Regions from separate parts of the Homo sapiens genome. Here all the other regions are linked to region 1. The links are contacts of gene promoters, found by promoter capture Hi-C in blood cells and fetal thymus (Javierre and others, 2016). All regions are on one chromosome and are shown on one strand. The core of a region is centred on a gene start or on the middle of the fragment in contact, and the rest is flanking DNA. Distances in the headings are between cores, read along the strand shown. Region 1 holds the start of GPA33 (glycoprotein A33). Region 2 overlaps POU2F1 (POU class 2 homeobox 1). Region 3 overlaps POU2F1 (POU class 2 homeobox 1).

Evidence for each region. Contacts are between HindIII fragments. The CHiCAGO score rates a contact against its expected background, and 5 or more counts as called.
Region 2: a contact is called between a fragment that was not itself captured here and the fragment with the promoter of GPA33 in region 1, in 2 of 17 cell types (neutrophils and total B cells). The highest score is 6.1, in neutrophils.
Region 3: a contact is called between a fragment that was not itself captured here and the fragment with the promoter of GPA33 in region 1, in 5 of 17 cell types (total B cells, naive B cells, naive CD8 T cells and 2 more). The highest score is 7.6, in total B cells.

Annotation. Positions count from the first base shown.
Region 1 is chr1:167,089,079-167,091,778 of GRCh38, reverse strand. GPA33 (glycoprotein A33) reads left to right here and starts at 1,402. Exons shown (of 7, transcript NM_005814.3): 1 at 1,402-1,534. The coding sequence starts at 1,492. LOC124904451 (a long non-coding RNA gene) reads right to left here. Exons shown (of 3, transcript XR_007066717.1): 2 at 2,368-2,456; 3 at 398-993. RefSeq lists an enhancer at 1,227-1,376. The HindIII fragment of the contact is 4,295 bases long and covers 633-2,700 here.
Region 2 is chr1:167,367,642-167,370,341 of GRCh38, reverse strand. It overlaps POU2F1 (POU class 2 homeobox 1), which reads right to left. Exons shown (of 16, transcript NM_002697.4): 4 at 128-181. Among named protein-coding and RNA genes, the nearest start is that of POU2F1, 150 kb to the right of the region's middle. The HindIII fragment of the contact is 7,500 bases long and covers 1-2,700 here.
Region 3 is chr1:167,384,865-167,387,564 of GRCh38, reverse strand. The region is part of intron 8 of POU2F1 (POU class 2 homeobox 1); the gene reads right to left. Among named protein-coding and RNA genes, the nearest start is that of CD247, 130 kb to the left of the region's middle. The HindIII fragment of the contact is 864 bases long and covers 908-1,771 here.

The sequences.
Region 1 (2,700 bases), core at 153-2,652:
ACAGGCGCACACCACCACACCTGGCTAATGTTTTGTATTTTTAGTAGAGGCGGGGTTTCACCGTGTTAGCCAGGATGGCCTCGATCTCTTGACCTCGTGATCAGCCCACCTTGGCCTCTCAAAGTGCTGTGATTACAGGCGTGAGCCACCGCGCCTGGCCAAATTTCACTAATAATTTTAAAAAGTAAATTATATATACATGGGATATCATGTTCACTTAGATTGGCGATGAGCAGAAAGTTTGATAACTGTGTCATAAACACTTGGTAACTGTGTTAGTGAGTGTGTGGGGAGATAGGTATCCTTATATGCTGCTAATAGGAGTGTAGGCTGTAAAATTCTCATGGTAGCTAGTTTAGCAATATCTATAAAAATTACAAATATGCATAACTTTCAGTGAGTCAGAAATTTTACTTTTAAGAATTTATCTTACATGTATAATCACAACACGTGTGAAATATCGTACACATAATAGATATTGGTTGCAATCTTTTCATAGTTGTGAAAGATGAGGAAAAACAATCTTAAAAGTAGTTTGGTTAAATAAATCATGTCACTCATATACAGTGAAATATCATCCCCATTTTAAAAAGATGATGGTGGTGGTGCTATACATACCGATACAGAAAGCTTTCTAAAACCTTTCATTAAATGAAAAATGAATAAATCATTGCAGAACAGTGTATATATATCTAAAATATCTATGGAAGAAACCAGCAACAGCCACTGCTCCTGGAGAATTATGGTCCCACACCACTGATCATTCTTTCAGTAGGGTGACCATCATCCAAATTTGCTTGGGACTGAGGGGGTTCCTTTTGGTTTGAAAACCAGGACAGTCCTAGGAAAAGTGAGACAAGTTGGTCACATGTCCCCAAGATGATCTTCTTTCACTTATGAACTTGCTACTTTCCCAGTCAGAATATAAACTCTGAAGGGGGAGACTTCCTGTTTTCTTCATGACTATATCTCTTGCGCACTGTGGGGTGGAGGCTGTAGAAGAGGAGAGAAGTAGAGAAACAGATCACATTGTGTCTTGAAGTGTTTCAGCAAATATGGGCAACACCCTTCTTTTACTAGCTTGGAACCCTACCTCTGAGTGCATTTCCCTTTTTATTATTTATTTCCTGTCAGTTATAAGAGAGGCCTACCCCTTTGTGAGCAGTCTAGGACTTTGTACACTTGTTAAGTAGGGAGAAGGCAGGGGAGGTGGCTGGTTTAAGGGGAACTTGAGGGAAGTAGGGAAGACTCCTCTTGGGACCTTTGGAGTAGGTGACACATGAGCCCAGCCCCAGCTCACCTGCCAATCCAGCTGAGGAGCTCACCTGCCAATCCAGCTGAGGCTGGGCAGAGGTGGGTGAGAAGAGGGAAAATTGCAGGGACCTCCAGTTGGGCCAGGCCAGAAGCTGCTGTAGCTTTAACCAGACAGCTCAGACCTGTCTGGAGGCTGCCAGTGACAGGTTAGGTTTAGGGCAGAGAAGAAGCAAGACCATGGTGGGGAAGATGTGGCCTGTGTTGTGGACACTCTGTGCAGGTGAGTAGGCCCCTTTTCTCTCCAGTGCCCAGGGGTGGGTGAGACATGGGGACCTAGGGCTGAAGGAGAGGCTCTGTCAGAGCCTTCCCAGGAAGGGCCTCCAGCAACACAGCTGCGTTCCTGCTGGGCCAGAATTACACATTCCGGACCAGTGCCCAGAATCAGAATGGTTTTTATTTACATATTAGTAAATAACATTCTAGCCCACTGCTGAAATGAAGAATTCAAAGTACTCTCAAGACCATATTTTCTTATCCCAAATTAGATTATAGGATCAGACACAGGATTTGACAATGTGGACAAAGTATTTGAAATCGGAGTTGTCCTAGAAAATCCAGGATGTGTGGATCTAGATATGTTCATTATCTAGTATATTAACGTTTGTGTTAAAACCAGAGAAAGAGACAGGAAACTGAGGCAGAAGAGACAATGCAACTTATCCCGTATCATTCACAGAGCAAGAGAAGATTCAAACCCTAAAAACAAACAACAAACTAGATGGGTCTTTTCCAAAGGCCAAAGCTCCTTGCCACTTCTGGGACCCTGGTCATTGAAAATTCTGGGACTCTGAGCATTTCCCTCTGGGAGGGAAACCTCCCAGAACAAAATCAGACATTCATGAGTATATGGTTGAATCCACATCAAGTGCTTAATAGCACAGTGTTCTGTGGGGACCTATGGAGTGTCTAAGGGTTAGAATGAAAGTCTTGGCATTAAGGTACCAACCATTTTGCTGGGCATTGGAAGGAAATAGAATGGAGAGAAGGAAGTTGAGAGACGCAGGGTTTGGCAAAGTTTAGGAATATCTTTGGTTTAGTGTATTTGGCCATCACCTTGCAATTCAGACACTGTTGAGGGCTTCCAGGATCCAGCTGCAACGGGGAGGAGAAGAGCTATACCAGGAAACTCAGGAGCACCAAGCCTGGGGAAGTGGAAACCAGGAGACTGGTTTAGAGCTCACTTTTTAGCATACACAGGAAAGCCCCGGGCCACGGGGCCTACAGCTCATTCTGGTTCTCCCAGGCCCTAGACATGCTTTTCTCTCAACACCTGGCCTTGGGGCTCTCGAGGGAAGGGCAGCCTGCTGCTGGGGAAGGGCTGGATCACACGGTTTGGAGGAAGATCTGGGTAAGATCATTCTCTCAGGCTGGCTCAAGTTCATCTGA
Region 2 (2,700 bases), core at 88-2,587, 280 kb before region 1:
CGAGATTCACTAATTTTGAAAAGGTAATACTTCTAAGCATTTCCTATTATAAAATATATGCTCACTACAGAAAAATATAAGAAAAAATAAATAAAAGATTGACCCATAATCCCAGGTCCCAGCTTACCTGTACATTTAAAGACTGAGCAGCAGCCTGTAAACTTGTTCCAGCGAGTTGGACCTATAAGTAATCAGGGGAAGTTCTAGTTTAATACTGTTGACATTCATCACAAGGGGTTGTCATCACTAAATAAAGTCTACTATGTGTCACCGAGCTAGAACTGAGAAGACAAAGAAGTTTGTCTTACGGAGTTAAAACTTTATGAACAAGCTCAGTCCCTTCTCAACCCACCCTACCCCACCCCAACGGGTCCCACAGAAAAATGCTGTTAATCTTTTTTTGAAGATGTTTTCCCACACTAAATGAACATTATCAGCCATGCCACACTTGTATTGAATGCTCCTTACATAACATTGTTTGTATTCACAGAATGCTTAAGATTCTAAAAATTTAATTAACCTTCCACATTGTGTTAAAGAACATATAAGCTATCTATATACATTCTTTATTATTAGAAACAATCAGAACCATCTACTTATTTTAATTTTGAATGTTCCATGTATACACCAGAGTAGAAATATATTTACACACCCACACAGCCAAGTCCTTAAAACATTTATAATCATAACTTAAAACTCTTAGCTGAAATAGAAAATCTACCCTATAAACCACACATAAAAGTCTGTCAAAACATTTAATACATTTCATACATTCAGAAAGTTCAAATCATGGTTATGTGAAAATAAGGATACACATGGAATTAAGACCATCATTTGGCAACTATGATAATAACTATGATTTAGGCAGAGTCATCAATGGATAACTAATGGGTGAGAAATCTGAGGAGTAACAGGATATTTACATATTCTCAGCTATGTCTCCAATGATACTTGATACTCACAAAGGGTAAAATAGTATCTTTTCAGTGGAGAAACCTGGCAGACAAATAATCAAGTGAGCACAAACAAGAGTCACCAGGAAGGAGACACAGGCCTTCTGCTAAGATGCACTGAGAGGAATACAGCATTGCTTATGCTGCATCCCTAACAAAAGTGTAGAATCTGAATCTAATCATGATGAAAATCAGACAAACCCAAACTGAGAAACACTACAAAATAACCAGTGTACACTGTTCAAAACAGTCAATGTCCTGAAACAAAGAAAGACTGAGGAGGGAGAAAGAGACTATAAACTAGGCTAGAATAAATGGAAAACTAAACTAGAATGGTGGCAGTGGGAATAAAAAGTAGGAAACATGAAAGTCTCTGCAATGCACTACATAAGGATCCTGACTGGATTTAGATTAAAAAAAGAGAGTCATGCATTATTCCAGGGTTCAAATCTGGGCAACTGGAAAATGGTAGTACCACTAACAGGGACAGAGAAGATAATGAGTTCCATTTTGTATACACCAGATAGCATCAAGATGTCCTGAGATTAAATATAAATGTTGGTATGGAGCTCAGTGAAGAGTTAAGAGCTAAAATGAATTGACTACTATGTCCTTTATTTGAAACTGCTAGTCCTGTTAGTAGATGAGAACCCTCAAACACAAAAACAAAAAACCAAAATCTGAAGACATATGTAGAACACATTTAAAATACAGTGTAATCAGGAGAGGCCTATCTGAACAGATAATATGTTTAAGGCCTAAAGGCTAAGAAGTCAAAGAGCCCAAGGAAAGAACTTCAGGTACAAAGATTTGAAGAAGATAAAAATTTTATGTGATTTTTACTTATTACGTTTCAGGGTAAAAGTCTGTTGAGGAATGGGATATTTACACAGTCTTTAAAGTACTGCCTCACAGAGTATTACTTACCAGGAGGCAAAAAGACATATTTACAGTGGACAAATCTAATAAACACTACCTTAATAAAATAATCAAACTTAATATCACAATAATGGGACAAAGCAATATGATACGGCTTCTGAATGCACCGAGAGGGACTCAGCATCATTTCTGCTGTATTCCTTTCAAAAATGCATAACTTGGGTTCAGCCGTTGAGGGAACAATCATATTCAAGTTAAATGGGCATTCTATCAAACAGCTGGCCTCTATTCTTCAAAAATGCCAATATCATGAAAGACAAAGACATGCTGAGGAATTGTTCTGGATTGAAGAAGACTTAACAGACATGACAGCTAAACGCAAAGTATGGACTGGATTGTGGGCAGGAAGTATATAAATATGGGCCAATATTGGAAAATGATATCGTATCAATGTTAAATTTCTGGAATTTGAAATTTGCACTGCAGTTTTATAAGAGAATGCTGTTTTTAGGAAAAACATGCTGAAGTATTTAGAAGTAAATGGTTATAATGTCTGCAACTTTCAAAGGGGTTAGCAAAAAACAATTTTTTTTGGCTCGGTGCCATGGTGTACGCCTATAATCACAGTTAGATGCAAGGCAAGAAGATCCCTTGAGCTCAGGAGTTGCAGATCAACCTGGGCAACATAATAAGACCTCATTTCAAAAAAAAAAAATTTGTACGTGTACATACATACATATACACATATGGTAAAAGCAAAATGTATTTTGTATGTGTACATACATACATATACACATATGGTATAAAGCAAATATGGTAAAATAGTAACAACTGGTGATTCTAGGTGAAGGGCTTTCAGATGAACACT
Region 3 (2,700 bases), core at 90-2,589, 300 kb before region 1:
ACTAACTGTCCCAGAAAACTACAGAATAAGCATTACACAGGCGACAACTGGAGTTAAGTTCCTCTCTTATCCTGTTTCAATGACAATAACAAAGTTCATTTCTATGTCATGCTGACACTGCGTAATTTTCAACCTGACCATTTTGGAGGAGCCAAAACGAGCACCAACCATAGCAGACCCCTATGTAGCTGTACATTTCTCACAGCGAAACTGGTTGACAGTTACAGGTGAGTCTTAACTATCACATTGTTACTTCATCTCCGGGCCTGAAGTAGCCCCATTCTCAAATAATAAAGGACTAAAAATCGCTTGGGTACCTTTAGATGGGGTGGTTACAGATAAGTTACCCCAGCTCCAGAAACCTCAGGCTGGACTGGGCCAGATCTAGAAATGGCAGAGTAGAATTCAGTGAGCAGGAGTCAGGATGAAGCCACAACGGCCCTGCCACCATATGCAGAGAACGGAGGCCAGGAAGAAGTCTCTGGTATAGGCTTTTTTCAAAATCCCAACCTCACTCTTGCATTCAGCATATTCACAAATTCACCATTTAAAAGGGCAAAGTATATGTTTCAGCAACTACAGTCATACAACTGCTACTAATTGCAGTAGCAGTTACTACAGATAGTAGTAGATACAGAACATTCTCATCACTCCCAAAAGTTCCCTTGTTCCCTTTGCAGTTAATCCCCACCATTAGCCCCCCGTCCCTGGCAACCACTAATATGTTTTATGTACCTTAGTTTTGTCTTTTCTAAAATGCCATGTGCATTGAATCATACTGTATGCAGTCTTTTATGTCTTCTTTCATGTAGTATAATGCTTTTGAGATTCACAGGAGATGCATGTATCAGAAGCACGTTTCTTTTTACTGCAAAGTAGCATTCCATCATATGGATATGCTAAAGCTTATGTTACCTAGTCACCAGCTGATGTATATTTAGGTTGTTTCCAGTTTGAGGTGAATAAAGCTGCTAGAAACATTCACATACAAGTCTTTGTGTGGACGTATGCTTTCATTTCTAGGGACAGAACTGCTGGGTCACAAGGTACATGCACATTTAATTTTATAAGAAACTGCCAGCCTGGTGCGGTGGCTCACGCCTGTCATCTCAACACTTTGGGAGGCCAAGACACGCAGATTGCTTGAGCCCAGGGGTTCAAGACCAGCCTAGGCAACATGGCGAAACCCCATCTCTACAAAAAATAGCTGGGCATGGTGATGCACGCCTGTAGTCCCAGCTACTCAGGAGGCTGATGCGGGAGGATTGCTTGAGCTTGGGAGGTCAGGCTGCTAGAGTGGGCTGTGATTGTGCCACTGCACTCCAGCCTGGGTGACAGAGCAAGACCTTGCCTCCCCCTCACCCCCCCAAAAAGAAACTGCCAAAATAATTTCCAAAGTGTGTATACCATTTTGCAACACCACTAAGCAATGTATGAGAACTCTAGTCGCTTTACCTTCTTGCCAACACTTGGTTTTGTCATAGCCTTTTAAATTTTGCTTATTCTAGTGACTGTGTAGTGATATTTCATTTAAATTTTCCTGATCACTAACGGTTTTTGAGCATCTTTTCATATGCCTGCTGGACATTTACATATCATCTTTGGTGACGTATCTCCAATTTTTTTGCTGCCCATTCCTTTAAATCAGATTGTCTTATTATTAACTTGAATGAGTTCTTTAGACATTCTGAACACAAATGTTTTATCAGATATGTTTCATAAATATTTTCTCCCCATCTGTGGTTTTCTTTTCATTCACTTGAGAGAAGCTTTTGATTTTTATGAAATTAAATTTATCCATTATTTTATGGTGCTTTTTGTGTCCTATTTAAGAAATCCTTGCCTAACCCAAGGACACAAAGATTTTTTTCCAAGCTTTTTTCTCTAAGTTTAGGTCTATGACCCATCAAACAAATCTTTGTACATGGTGTGAAATAATAGTCAAGGTTTTTTATTTTTTTTCCCTATTGTTTCAGCTGCATTTTTTGAATGACTTTTTTTTTCCCATTGAAATCCTTTGGCACCTTTGGCAAATCAGTTGGCCATATACATGTGGATCTACTGGACCTTCTATTCTGTTCCACTGATCTCTATTTCTATCCATATGCCAGTATTACACTGTCTTCATTACTTGAGTTTTATAATTATTCTTGACATCAGTAGTCCTTCAATTTTCTTCTCAAAATCGTTTGGTTATTCTGTGTTTTCTACAGTTCTATATAAATGTTAGAAACAGTATGCAAATTTCTACAAAAAAGCCTGCTAGGTATTGGTTGAGACTGTTGAATCTAGAGGTCAATTTGGGAAAAACTGACATTTTAACATTTAACTTAAGTCTTCTGATTCATGAACATATTACTTCTTTCTATTTTATAGGTCTTTAATTTTATGCAGCAATGTTCTATAGTTTTCAACTATAGAACTATTTGTATAGGCCTTACAAATATTTTGTTGTTTACCCCTAAGTACTGTAAATTTCTTTTTCTTAATTTCAATTTCCAAATGCTCACTGCTAGTGTATAGAAATGTAAATGATTTTTATATATTGAGTTTGTATCATACTTGCTAAGCTCACTTATTCCAGTAGCTTTTTTTGGTAGATTCCTTAAGATTTTCTACATAGACAATCATGTCATCTAGCAACTAAGATAGTTTTACTTCTTCCTTTCTAATCTGTATGTCATTTATTAATATTTTATT